Regions from separate parts of the Homo sapiens genome. Here regions 1 and 3 are each linked to region 2. Evidence: promoter capture Hi-C in 16 types of primary human blood cells and fetal thymus (Javierre and others, 2016). All regions are on one chromosome and are shown on one strand. The core of a region is centred on a gene start or on the middle of the fragment in contact, and the rest is flanking DNA. Distances in the headings are between cores, read along the strand shown.

Region 1 (4,230 bases), core at 118-2,617, 220 kb before region 2:
ATTTCTGATTGTCTAGTGTTAGGGTTGATGGGGAGATAGAAGTGTACCTGTAAAGGGTAGCACAAGAGAGATCTTTGTGTTGATGGATAATTCTGTATCCTGATTGTGGTGGTGGTTACAAGAATCTACACAGGTGATAAGATGTCATAGAACTGGCAGGGTGCGGTGGCTCACGCCTGTAATCCCAGCACTGTGGGAGGCCCAGGCGAGCGAATCACAAGGTAGGAGTTCGAGACCAGCCTTGTTGGTGAAACTCCGTCTCTACTAAAAATACAAAAAATTAGCTGGGGGTAGTGGCGGGCACCTGTAACCCCAGCTACTCAGGAGCCTGAGGCAGGAGAATCGTTTGAACCCGGGAGGTGGAGGTTGCAGTGAGCCGAGATCGTGCCACTGCACTCCAGCCCAGGCGACAGAGTGAGACTCCGTCTCAAAAAAAAAAAAAAAGCCAGGCGCGGTGGCTCACACCTGTAATCCCAACACTTTGGGAGGCCGAGGCGGGTGGATCACGAGGTCAGGAGATCGAGACCATCCTGGTTAACATGGTGAAACCCCGTCTCTACTAAAATAAAAAAAATCAGCCGGGTGTGGTGGCATGCGCCTATAGTCCCAGCTACTCAGGAGGGCGAGACAGGAGAATCGCTTGAACCCGGGAGGCGGGAGGCAGAAGTTGCAGTGAGCCGAGATTGTGCCACTGCACTCCAGCTTGGGCGACAGAGCAAGACTCGGTCTAAAAAAAAAAAAGAAAGAAAAAAAAAGTCATAGAACTACTACACACACACATTGTACCAATATAAATTATCTGGCTTTGATATTGAATATAGTTATGTTAGATTTAACCTTTAGTGGAAGTTGGTAAAGGGCGTACAGGACCTCTCTGTACTATTAATGCAACTTCCTGTGAAACTATAATTATTTCTAAATAAAAAGTTTTAAAAATCTCTACAAAAAAGAAAACAAATAAGATTATACAAGTATGAGTAAGAGCTGGCCATAAAGAAAGAAAGAAAAATATTTATATAAAAGATTGTGTAAGTAAAGTACCTAGTCCATGGTAGATGCTCAATAAAAATAAATCATTGTTTTCATTCTTTTTCATTTTTAAACTTTCACTGGGGCAAATTTATTTTTATTTTTACTTAGGATTTTTGAGGCAGGATCTTGCCTTGTCACCCAGGCTTGAGTGCAATGGTATGATCAGTGCTCACTGCAATCGTGAACTCCTTGGCTTAAGCAATCCTCTTACCTCAGCCTCCTAAGTAGCTGGAACTAGAGGCATGAGCCACCATGCCTGGCTAATTTTTTTTTTTAAGAGATAGGGTCTCATCATGTTTCCCAGGCTGGTTTCAAACTCCTGGGCTCAAACAATCCTCCTGTCTTGGCCTCTCAAAGTGCTGGGATTACAGGCATGAGCCACCCCATGCCCAGATGGAATATTTAAAACATACAGAAAAGCAGAGAGAACAGGACATTGAGCTTCCATATATTCATCACCAGGACTTAGGAATTGTTAACATTTGTCCATATTTTCTTCATCTATTTTTATCTCTAACAGATAAAGCCCTTTTATTTATTTATTTTTTCCTTGAGACAGGGTCTCTGTCGCTCAGCCTGGAGTGCAGAGACCCAATCATAGCTCACTGTTAGCTTAAACTCCTGGGCTCAAGCAATCCTCCCATCTCAGCCTCCTGAATAGCTAGGACTACAGGCGCAAGCCACCATGCCTGAGTGGTTTTTAAAATTTTTTGTAGAGATAGGGTCTTGCTATGTTGTCCAGGCTGGTTTCAAACTCCTGGCCTCAAGCGATCCTCCTGCCTCAGCCTCCCAAAGCACTGGCATTACAGGCATGAGTCACTGCACTGGGCCCTGCTTAACAAAAAAAATTTTTTTAAACGGAGTCTCGCTCTGTCACCAGACTGGAGGATAGTGGCACGATCTCCGCTCACTACAGCCTCTGCCTCCCAGGTTCAAGGGATTCTCCTGACTCAGCCTCCCAAGTAGCTGGGACTACAGGCGCATGCCACCACACCCAGCTAATTTTTGTGTTTTTAGTAGAGATGGGGTTTCACCATGTTGGCCAGGATGGTCTCAGTCTCCTGACCTCATGATCCACCTGCCTTGGCCTCCCAAAGTGCTTTATACACCGCGCCCGGCCAACAAATTTTTAAGTGCACAAAATAGTATTGTTAACTATATGTACCATATTGTACACAGATTTCTAGAACTTATTCATCTTGCATAACTGAAATTGTATACCCATTGAACAGCAACTCTCCATCTCCCCAGCTGCTCAGCCTCTGGAAAACCATTGCTCTTATTGATGATGATGCTATTGTTATTATGATTATTTACTATGAGACTGTGTCTTTCCTCTATGTGGAGACCTACAGGTAGGAATCTCCAATGGTCCCAGTTGAATTGCTTCTTGTAGAAGACAGTTTAGATAGCCTCAGACTTTGAAGATATCCTTAGACTCCAGATATGTCATCCAAAGCTACTGATCTCTGTCAACACCATGCTGAAACTCTGGCTCCTCATTCTACCCTGCATTCTACCCCTTCCCAACCTTGCAAAGGTGAGTTGTATATTTGTCATTCATCGTGGGTCAGTATTGTCCTCTTGGGTGGGACCCCAGCCCCAGAAGAAGAGATGCAGAGTTTTCATCTAGAATCACTTCAAGTGGGCCCTGACCACTCATGAGAGGTGCAGAGAATACAAAAACAGAGGTTTCCTGTAACCTCCCTTGTGATGAAATGGCTTACGTCATTCTATTCACTTGAAGAAAAAGCTGGCCCTGGCTTAATCACTGTCTGCACTATTACTGTTTCCCATCACTTCTTCTTACCTCCATGGCTGATACTGTGGTCCAAGCCACCACCATCCTGCACCAGGGTCACTGAGTTTGTCTCCTGACTGCTCTCCCCACTTCTATCCATGCTTCTTCACTTTATTCTCAAAACAGCATCCATCCAGAGTATATCTGCCCAAGATTGGCGAGTTTTTCCACATCTCTCTCTGGCTTGCTGGTTTTTTGTTTAAATTCATTTCTCTTATCCTACTGTCATTAGATATTGAAAAGAGCAAAATACTCTGGGCATGGTGGCTCATGCCTATAATCCCAGCCGGGTTTCAAGTATTACTAGAGCCGGCTGGCAACCATTAATATTGGACTATTTCATGACTAGTACCCAAACCTAGATGCACAGAAAGATCTCTCTTTCAGATCATCCCGGGCAAGACCTCCAAGTTCCTGTCATATTTCTGTTAATTAATTAGTTATTTCATTCAGTATGTATTTATCAAGTACCTAATATGAGCCAGGCAATTCTGCTGGGATCTAGGCATACAGCCATGAGTATGGTAGATAAAATCCCTGCCCTCATGGAGCTTAAAGCCTAGTGAGAGAGTCAGATAATAAGGAAATGAATAAGGTAATTTTAGATTTAGTATTATGAGGACAATAAAAACTGCTGAAATGAGGGAGAGGAATTGAAGGTCATGGAAAACCTCTCTGAGGGAATGAAATTTCAGCTAAGTCCAGAAGAATGAGAGGGAGGCAGTCTTACAAAGAGTAGAAGGAAAAACCAGTCCTGAGTCTGAAAAGGGATGGATTTATTTAAGGAATAGGAAGGAGGCCAGTGTGGCCCAGTGGTGGGGCTTGGGGTAGGAGGACTGGGGGGGATCCCAAGCTTCGTGGGAGTGTCCTCTGCACCCATTCTCCAAAAGTAGTGCCTTTCTTAGATTGTAAAACACACAGAGAAAGTGAAGACTTTTTTTTGAGATGGAGTCTCTGTCACCCAAGCTGGAGTGCAGTGACTTGCTGCAACCTCTGCCTCCCAGGTTCAAGCAGTTCTCGTGCCTCAGCCTCCCAAGTAGCTGAGATTACAGGCATGCGCCACCAAGCCCGGCCAATTTTTGTATTTGTAGTAGAGACAGGGTTTCACCCTGTTGACCATGCTGTTCTTGAACTCCTGGCTTCAAGCAATCCACCCGCCTCGGCTGCCCAAAGTGCTGGGATTACAGGCATGAGCCACCATGCCCAGGCTTGTTTTGTTTTTTTCTTAGCAAAATGTCAGTTCAGTATAAAAATGTGTTCAGAGCCTACTGTGTACCTGTCACTTCAGCTCAAAATAGAACTCAGGAGTTTTGTATTTTCCAGGCTCCGTCCAGTGATCCGTCAGCTTGTCCCATCACTTTTGCCCTCTCTGCCCCTCCCCCTCCAAATCTCTCAGT
Region 2 (3,746 bases), core at 878-3,377:
GTGAGCTGAGACCGCGCAATTGCACTTCAGCCTGGGCGACAGCGCAAGAATCTCAAAAAAAAAAAAAAAAAAAAAAAAAAAATCAAATGAGACACTATACTGTATGTAATCCACAAACTGTAGAGTGGTATACAATATTGGTTATCATAATTATTTTTTATAAATGAAGACATTGAGCCCCAGAGAGATGAAGTTACCTGCCCATTTCTTGGGCCTTTATATATCAGGATCTACTTAGTAACTCTGACTCCTAATCTTGGGCCTTGTACATTATATATCAGGGTCTACTTTATGCTGAATTAACATTTCCAGTGTGAAGTGAAGGGGTGGAAATAACCTATACATTTTTAGTTCTAGCAACAAACAACAAAAGTCATCAATTTGAAGATTAAATAAATTAAGCAGGCCGGGCAACGTGGCTCACGCCTGTAATCCCAGCACTTTGGGAGGCTGAGGCAGGTGAATCATGAGGTCAGGAGTTCGAGACCAGTCTGGCCAACATAGTGAAACCCCATCTCTACTAAAAATACAAAAAATTTTCCGGGTGTGGTGGCACGCACCTGTAGTCCCAGCTACTCGGGAGGCTGAGGCGGCAGAATCGCTTGAACGCGGGAGGTGGAGGTTGCAGTGAGCTGAGACCGTGCCATTGCACTCCAGCCTGGGAGACAGAGAGAGACTCTGTCTCAAAAACAAAACAACAACAAAAAAGAAAATGGGAAAAGGGTCGGACGTGGTGGCTCACGCCTATAATCCCAGCACTTTGGCAAGCCCAGGCGGGTGGATCACTTGAGGCCAGGAGTTTGAGACCAGCCTGGCCATCATGGCAAAACCTCATCTCTACTAAAAATACAAAAGTTAGCTGGGCGTAGTGGCGCATGCCTGTAATCTCAGCTACTTGAGAAAGCTAAGGCATGAGAATCACTTGAACCCAGGAGGTGGAGGTTGCAGGTAGCTGTGATTGTGCCACCACACTCCTGCCTGGGCAAGAGAGTGAGACTCTCAAAAAGAAAACATAATAGTATCATCTAACACATATTGTGGTTAGTATATTAAAAGCACTATTCTAAGTGCTTACCCACATTAACTCTTAATCTTCACAACCATCCCATTGGAATATTATCCATGTTATATAGAATGTATCTGCTTATAAAACTTTACAATTAGATTCATTATTTAAGAGAAAGAAGCAAAGTCACAATTTCACTCTTGAAAACAGTAGTAATTGTCCTAGAAACAAACAGCCCTTTACCAAATAGTTTACAGTGGTCATAGGCAGTAATATTTTGCTGATTTTGTCCTTTACCCTCTGGCTCTGAACTCATTTTATCTTATTCTATGGTGAGTTTTCAGTTGAATTCCGACCACTCTCTTACCTTCTGCCTGCAGAAGGACATCACAGAACACATCACTCTGCTGCTGGTGATGAAGCTGCAGAAAAGCTAACCTGAGGAACCGGGGGTTCCTGTATAGGATTTTGGGACTGGCAGGAGAGCACATGTTGGCAAGAGTCTTAACAAACCTTCTAGGTTTTCACAGATCAGACTCCTGTAGGTGAGATAATACATTTCAGAGGCATGGTTACATCTAATTTGTTTTTTGTCTTTGAAATGGCAGGGGAATTTTGAAAGTGAGAGATAATAGTATGAGTTGAGGAAACATCAGCCCAGAAATTGTGCCAAGGATATCTCAAGAAAGAAAATTATCATAGTGGTTACATGTGGGAGCTCAGAGATAAGCCTAGGTTTGGGTCTTGGCTCTATTTATTAGCCTGGCTGTATAATCTCACACAGGTGACCTAACTTCTCTGAGTCTCACTTTCCTATCCATGAAATAGAATAATAGTACTTACCTTGTAGGGTTGTTTTAAAGATTAAATGAGTCAGTGAAGGTAAAGTTGCTTAGCACAGTGAGTGCCTGGCACAAAATAACTACCAAGCCCCAAATGGTAACTATTATTATCCTTCAACCTTCCTCATTTCCATTACCACTGAGACTCAACTGCTACAATGCTGACTACTTATATTCTTCCTGAGCACCACATCCCAGCTCCACAGGTATAATCTTCAAGTTAACACTTTTAAGGAAACATTACTGGGTATAAAATTATCTCTAGTAAGTCGTATGCGCCTTTTCTCTGAGCTCACTGTATCACACTAACCAGCAGAGGGTGCACAATAAAGAAGAGAAGCCTCTGACTCTGCGGGAAGGTCTCTCACAGAACCAAGGACGTTGCCACCCTTGGCTGGGTGTACTTGACCAAAGCGAGCCTGACTGACCCTGGTAGTAGGCAAAGAATTTGGCCTTTACGTTTGTATAGTTAATTACCAGGCTAACAATGCAGCAAGGATAGTAAAGCATTTTACCCCTCCCAAAACAAACTGAGTATTCTGACTTCAGGCTTATGTCCAGCTTTTTAGCTCCGAAACCCCCCCACTCACTGCACAGCTGTGTTCCTTTCCTGGAATGCAGTTTTCTATCAGGTAGCACTGAGGGTCCGAACAGTTCACGTCAAAACTATCAGGAAAGAAGAATGAAAAGGTAAATTAAGAGAAGGCGGGCTTGGCTGGGCGGGGTGGCTCACGCCTGTAATCCCAGCACTTTGGGAGGCCGAGGCGGGTGGATCACCTGAGGTTAGGAGTTTGAGACCAGCCTGGCCAACATGGTGACTCCCCGTCTCTACAAAAATACGAAAATTAGCCGGGCATGGTGGCAGGCGCCTGTAATCTCAGCTACTCAGGAGGCTGAGGTGGGAGAATCGCTTGAACCTGGGAGGCAGAGGTTGTAGATAGAGCCACTGCACTCCAGCCTGGGCGACAGAGCGAGACTCCGTCTCAAAAAAAAAAAAAAAATTCCCATCCCAGTGAGAGAGATGTGGATGGAGGATGGCAGCTGTTGCAAGGGCCCTGGGGAAGCTTCTCAATCCACGATCGCCTGGCCTTGCCTCCAGACCCAACTTGAAATAGCTTTTCGGTAGACTTTGCTCCTGTTGCCTTCTCTGTGCTTGTCCTCTGTCCAGCCTGCCTTGCTTCCTCTCAATGTTCAGCGTTGAGTCAGGAGGCTGAGCAAAGATGCGCAGGTGGGCCAACGGCTGAGTGCTTCACCTCCCCATCCAGAAGCAAGGGAATCGGTGTTGGCGGAGAAAGCAGGGCTTCAGGGAGAGCCCTGCAAAGCGGGGTGGCCCGCACGCTTGGGCGCCCTGGCCCAACTCCTTTGAAGAAAGACTCCTAGGCGCGAGGGTTTCTGGGAATGGACCGTGGGGATCCGGGAGGCCCAAAGTCAGGACTTCCCGTCACGGCCACCTCCGCCAGCATAGACTTTGCAGGCAGCCCCTGGCGCCCTTGTATCCCTGCGGGCTTCAGCACCCACATGCACTGGGTGGTAGTGATAGCGAGGGTTGTAAGGCCACGCGGCCAGCGCCACACACCTCGTGCCACCGTCCTAGCGCGCTGCGCGTCGCAGAGCCCTACGCCCCTCCTCCTCCCGAGTCCTCGGGCCTACGTCGTCCGGCATACGTCATCCCCATTGGCCGAAGGCTCCCGGGAGAACCAATCAGAACAGGAGGAGCGCTTTGGGCGGGAGGCTAAGTCTCGAGGGACTTGAGGGCTGAGGGAAGATGGCTGGGCTGCAAGAGGCAGGGGGATGGGCCCGTCAGGGAGGAATTCTTGTGAAAGCCGTCGTCTGCCTCAGCACTTGATGAAAACACACCGAAAAAGAGGGTAGGGATGCTGTAGTAGAGCAGGCGCCAA
Region 3 (3,964 bases), core at 1-2,500, 190 kb before region 2:
ATTCCAAAGAGCTTTGACTAACAAAAAGTTCAATGTCTTAAATTTTATTTCCAAGTAATGAAAAGTGTAGATTAATTTCTCAAAGTATCTTTAGTCACTAATAATCGGATGAAAAAAAGAGAGATCTTGCACTCTGAAAACTATTTTGGAATACTGCTTTCAGAGAGACTTTATCAAGAAAATACCAAATAATAAACAGAGAAAAATAAGAACAGTAGAAATGAGCTATTTGTGTTTTCATATGTAACAATTTTCTGAAATAAGACTACAGAAAAACAAAATACAATTTAGGTTTGCGGGAGCAAATTCTCCCAACTGTGAGAGCCTGGAAGTTTATCCCTACCCCTTGACAAAGGTCCAAGAAATCTTTATTTCTTCTTCTTTTTGATGCTGTTTGTCTCCTGAAGTTCTGTGGTGGGCTTGGTGGCTACCGGTTTAAGGAAGGGGTCTCCTACTAAGTCAAAAGTCCTTTGGCATCTTTATCAGAAGGTGAACCTCAGAAGTATCTGGATCTCAGAAGCAATCAATTCAGAGAGAAGCCCCCTCCAGCAATGATAACCTCCAGTAAAAGGATCTCAAGCAGGGAAAATTCTTGCCTAGTCCTAACCCTCCCTGCCCATGTCCCTGGCCTAATTTGGCCCCAATCCAAAGCCATGGTCCCCATGGATACTCACGGGTAGGAGGAGAGCGTGCCACACCAGGACATTGGCATCATCGCTGGACAGGTTCCGCAGGTATGGGGGAGGCTTCTTCTGAAGATCCTCCAGCTCCTGCAGGGGACACAAGTGAGTGGGCAGTTGGCCTAGTCCTCCTTATTTCAGCCCCCTCCCCCTGCCCCAGCAGCAAGCTGCCCCAAGTTCAAAACTGGCCATCTTAGGGGCAGAAGCCGGTAAAGTCAGAGCCTACATTTACTGAGCACTTAGTATGTATCAGGCATGGTGCTGGTGCTTTTTCTTTTTTCTTTTTTTTTTTTTTTGAGACAGAGTCTCGCTCTGTTGCCCAGGCTGGAATGCAGTGGCGCAATCTCGGCTCCCTGCAAGCTCCGCCTCCTGGGTTCACGCCATTCTCCTGCCTCAGCCTCCCGAGTAGCTGGGACTACAGACGCCCGCCACCACGCCCCGCTAATTTTTTGTATTTTTAGTAGAGACGGGGTTTCACCGTGTTATCCAGGATGGTCTTGATCTCCTGACCTCGTGATCCGCCCGCCTCAGCCTCCCAAAGTGCTGGGATTACAGACGTGAGCTACCGCGCCCAGCCGGTGCTGGTGCTTTAAGTGAATTTTCTGACTGTGGCCTCACCACAACTCTGGTACACCTAGGTACTAGGTGCAGGGAAAAATAGATCACTTCTCCCAGATATTAAAACTTGGGAGTAAGTGCTCTTAGGAGGCTTTTCTCCTGAAAGCAGGGTACTTAACCTCTGCTCTCTAGCCTTCTTCCTAGAAAGTCACTAGGTTCTAATTCCCTTCCTCTCTTCCTTTCTTCCTTCCGTAAGCATCGACTGAGCATCTGCAGCAAAGACATGACCCCACCGCTTCAAACTCTGCCAGATCAGGGCTGGAGAAGGGAAATGACTCCGGAAGACCATAGCAGAGAAGAACTCTACACACCAAGTGGGGAAACAAGGGGGCAAGGAGTGACTCATCTTCCCAAAACTGTGGCCCAAACACCTGAATATCCCTTCTGAATTCTCCCAACAGCCATTACTGAGCATCTTCTACTGACATTTAACTGAGACAGGACCCAGTCCTCAAGAATTTCAATAGAGTAATGGACGAAACATGGATGTGATTATGTGAATGTGTATGGATATACGGTAAGGAAGGAGATGAGAGGGGAGAAGGAAGGTTTCACAGAGGGTGCACTCTGTGAGCTGGGCCATGCAGAATGAACAGGAATCCATAAAGCAGAGAAGGGGAGAAGCACCAGGGCAGAGGGCCCAGATGGGAAACATAAGTACAGTATGTCCTGCAGAAGGTTAATAGGTAGTACAGGAAAAGGGTTCCAAGGTCAAGTACATTTGGTAAATCTCGGCTAAAGAGGTTTCTTCACTGGAGAACTTCCCACAGCCTTTAATATGCTATTGTGTATGGTGATTGACCAAGCTGTGGGCCCACAGCATGCAGTACTTCTCAAATGTATTTGACAAAGGAATGCTGCCCCTCTTTTAGAGTCCATCTTGTGGGACTACAGGCCTTTTCTTGTTGGGGAAGATAAAGACACTCAAGGGCAGGTCACATTTCTCTGGAACAATGAATTGGTACAAACCAGTGGTTCTCAACCAGGGGCGATTTTACCCAGCCAGGGACATTCGGTAATATCTGGGAACATTGTTCCGTTGTCATAAATCGGGAGAGTGGATAGAGGCCAGAGATGCTGATAAACATCCTAACAAAGAATTATCTGGCCGAACAAGAGGGGAGACCGCTGCCCTGCAGGGTGAGTCTCAGGCCTGGTCACATTCACCACAAGCTGACTGAAGGGCCTTTGGGCCTTAGGCGAACATCAGCAGTAGTACCCTGGCAGTACTCCTCATAGACCCGTGGTGGTGGTGGACAAGGGGAGAGACTCCTATATCTGGGGAAAAGGGAGGGAAGAGTGGGAAGGACTGTGTCCTGTGGTTTCAGTGCCAGCTTAGCTGCAGTAGCACAGAGCACTAGAGAGATTTCTAAGGTTTCCGACTCCAGGCCCTGGCCCATGGACAGCAACTGTGGACCTCTCTGGGGCCCAGCAGTGAACTAACCACCCTAAGGGGAAGAACACAAGCCTGGCTGGCTTCACCACCTGCTGATTGCAGAGCCCTAGGGCCTTGAGCGAACGTAGGGCATAGCCAGGTAGTGATTACAGCGGGCCTTGAGCAAAACCCAGTCTTGTGCTGGCTTCAGGCCTGACCCAGTGCAGTCCCAATTCTGGTGACCATGGGGATGCTTGTGTCACACCTCACCCAGCTCCAGGGAGCTCAGCACGGAGAGTAAGACTCCATTTGTTTGGGAGAAAGTAAGGGAAGAAAATGAGAGTCTCTACCTGGTAATCCAGAGAATTCTTCCTGATGTTATCCAAAACCACAAAGGTAGTAACCTCTAAAAGTCTGCAAGAACTACAGTGTTACTAGGCTTGGAGTGCCCCCTTATGTAGACATGGCTGCAGTGACCAAAACTTAGATCACAACAGCCAAGCCCCTTCCAATACCTCGAAAGCCTTCCCAAGAAGGATGAGTACAAACAAGCCCAGACTACAAAGACTATAATAAATACCTAACTCCTTAGTGCCCAGACACCAACAAACATCCACAAGCTTCAAGACGATCCAGGAAAACACAGCCTCACCAAACGAACTAAATAAGGCACACAGGGCCAATTCCAGAGAAACAGAGATATGTGACCTTTCAGACAGAGAAATCAAAATAGCTGTTTTGAGGAAACTCAAAGAAATTCAATATTTCCTCCACAGAGAAGGAATTCAGAATCCCATCAACAAATTTAACAAATAAATTGAAATAATTAAAAAGAATCAAGGAGAAATTCCGGAGTCGAAAAATGCAATTGAGGCCGGGTGCAGTGGCTCATGCCTGTAATCCCAGCACTTTGGGAGGCCGAGGCAGTCAGATCACCTGAGGTTAGGAGTGCAAGACCAGCCTGGCCAACGTGGTGAGGCCCTGTTTCTACTAAAAATACAAAAATTAGCTGGGCATGGTGGTGCAGGCCTGTAATCCCAGCTACTTGGGAGGCTCAGGCAGGAGAATTGGAGAGGCAGAGGTTGCAGTGAGCCGAGAGCATGCCATTGCACTCCAGCCTGGGCAACAAGAGTGGAACTCTGTCTCAAAAAAAAAAAAAAAAGAAAGAAAGAAAAAAATGCAATTAACATACTGAAACGCATCAGTCTTTTAACAGCAGAATTGATCAAGCAGAAGAACTAGAGTGTTTAAAGACAGGGTATTTGAAAATACAGTCAGATGAAGCAAAATA

Evidence for each region. Contacts are between HindIII fragments. The CHiCAGO score rates a contact against its expected background, and 5 or more counts as called.
Region 1: a contact is called between a fragment that was not itself captured here and the fragment with the promoter of BTBD18 in region 2, in 9 of 17 cell types (fetal thymus, naive CD4 T cells, total CD8 T cells and 6 more). The highest score is 10.9, in fetal thymus.
Region 3: a contact is called between a fragment that was not itself captured here and the fragment with the promoter of BTBD18 in region 2, in 1 of 17 cell types (naive CD8 T cells). The highest score is 5.0, in naive CD8 T cells.

What each region holds. Positions count from the first base shown.
Region 1 is chr11:57,532,831-57,537,060 of GRCh38, forward strand. No RefSeq gene overlaps it. Among named protein-coding and RNA genes, the nearest start is that of SMTNL1, 2.6 kb to the right of the region's middle. The HindIII fragment of the contact is 4,634 bases long and covers 1-3,684 here.
Region 2 is chr11:57,749,692-57,753,437 of GRCh38, forward strand. It overlaps BTBD18 (BTB domain containing 18), which reads right to left and starts at 2,128. Exons shown (of 3, transcript NM_001145101.3): 1 at 1,850-2,128; 2 at 1,374-1,545. The coding sequence starts at 1,497. All of the region lies in intron 2 of TMX2-CTNND1 (TMX2-CTNND1 readthrough (NMD candidate)), which reads left to right. The HindIII fragment of the contact is 11,151 bases long and covers 1-2,910 here.
Region 3 is chr11:57,559,663-57,563,626 of GRCh38, forward strand. UBE2L6 (ubiquitin conjugating enzyme E2 L6) reads right to left here. Exons shown (of 4, transcript NM_004223.5): 2 at 675-770. Among named protein-coding and RNA genes, the nearest start is that of UBE2L6, 6.0 kb to the right of the region's middle. The HindIII fragment of the contact is 4,082 bases long and covers 1-3,291 here.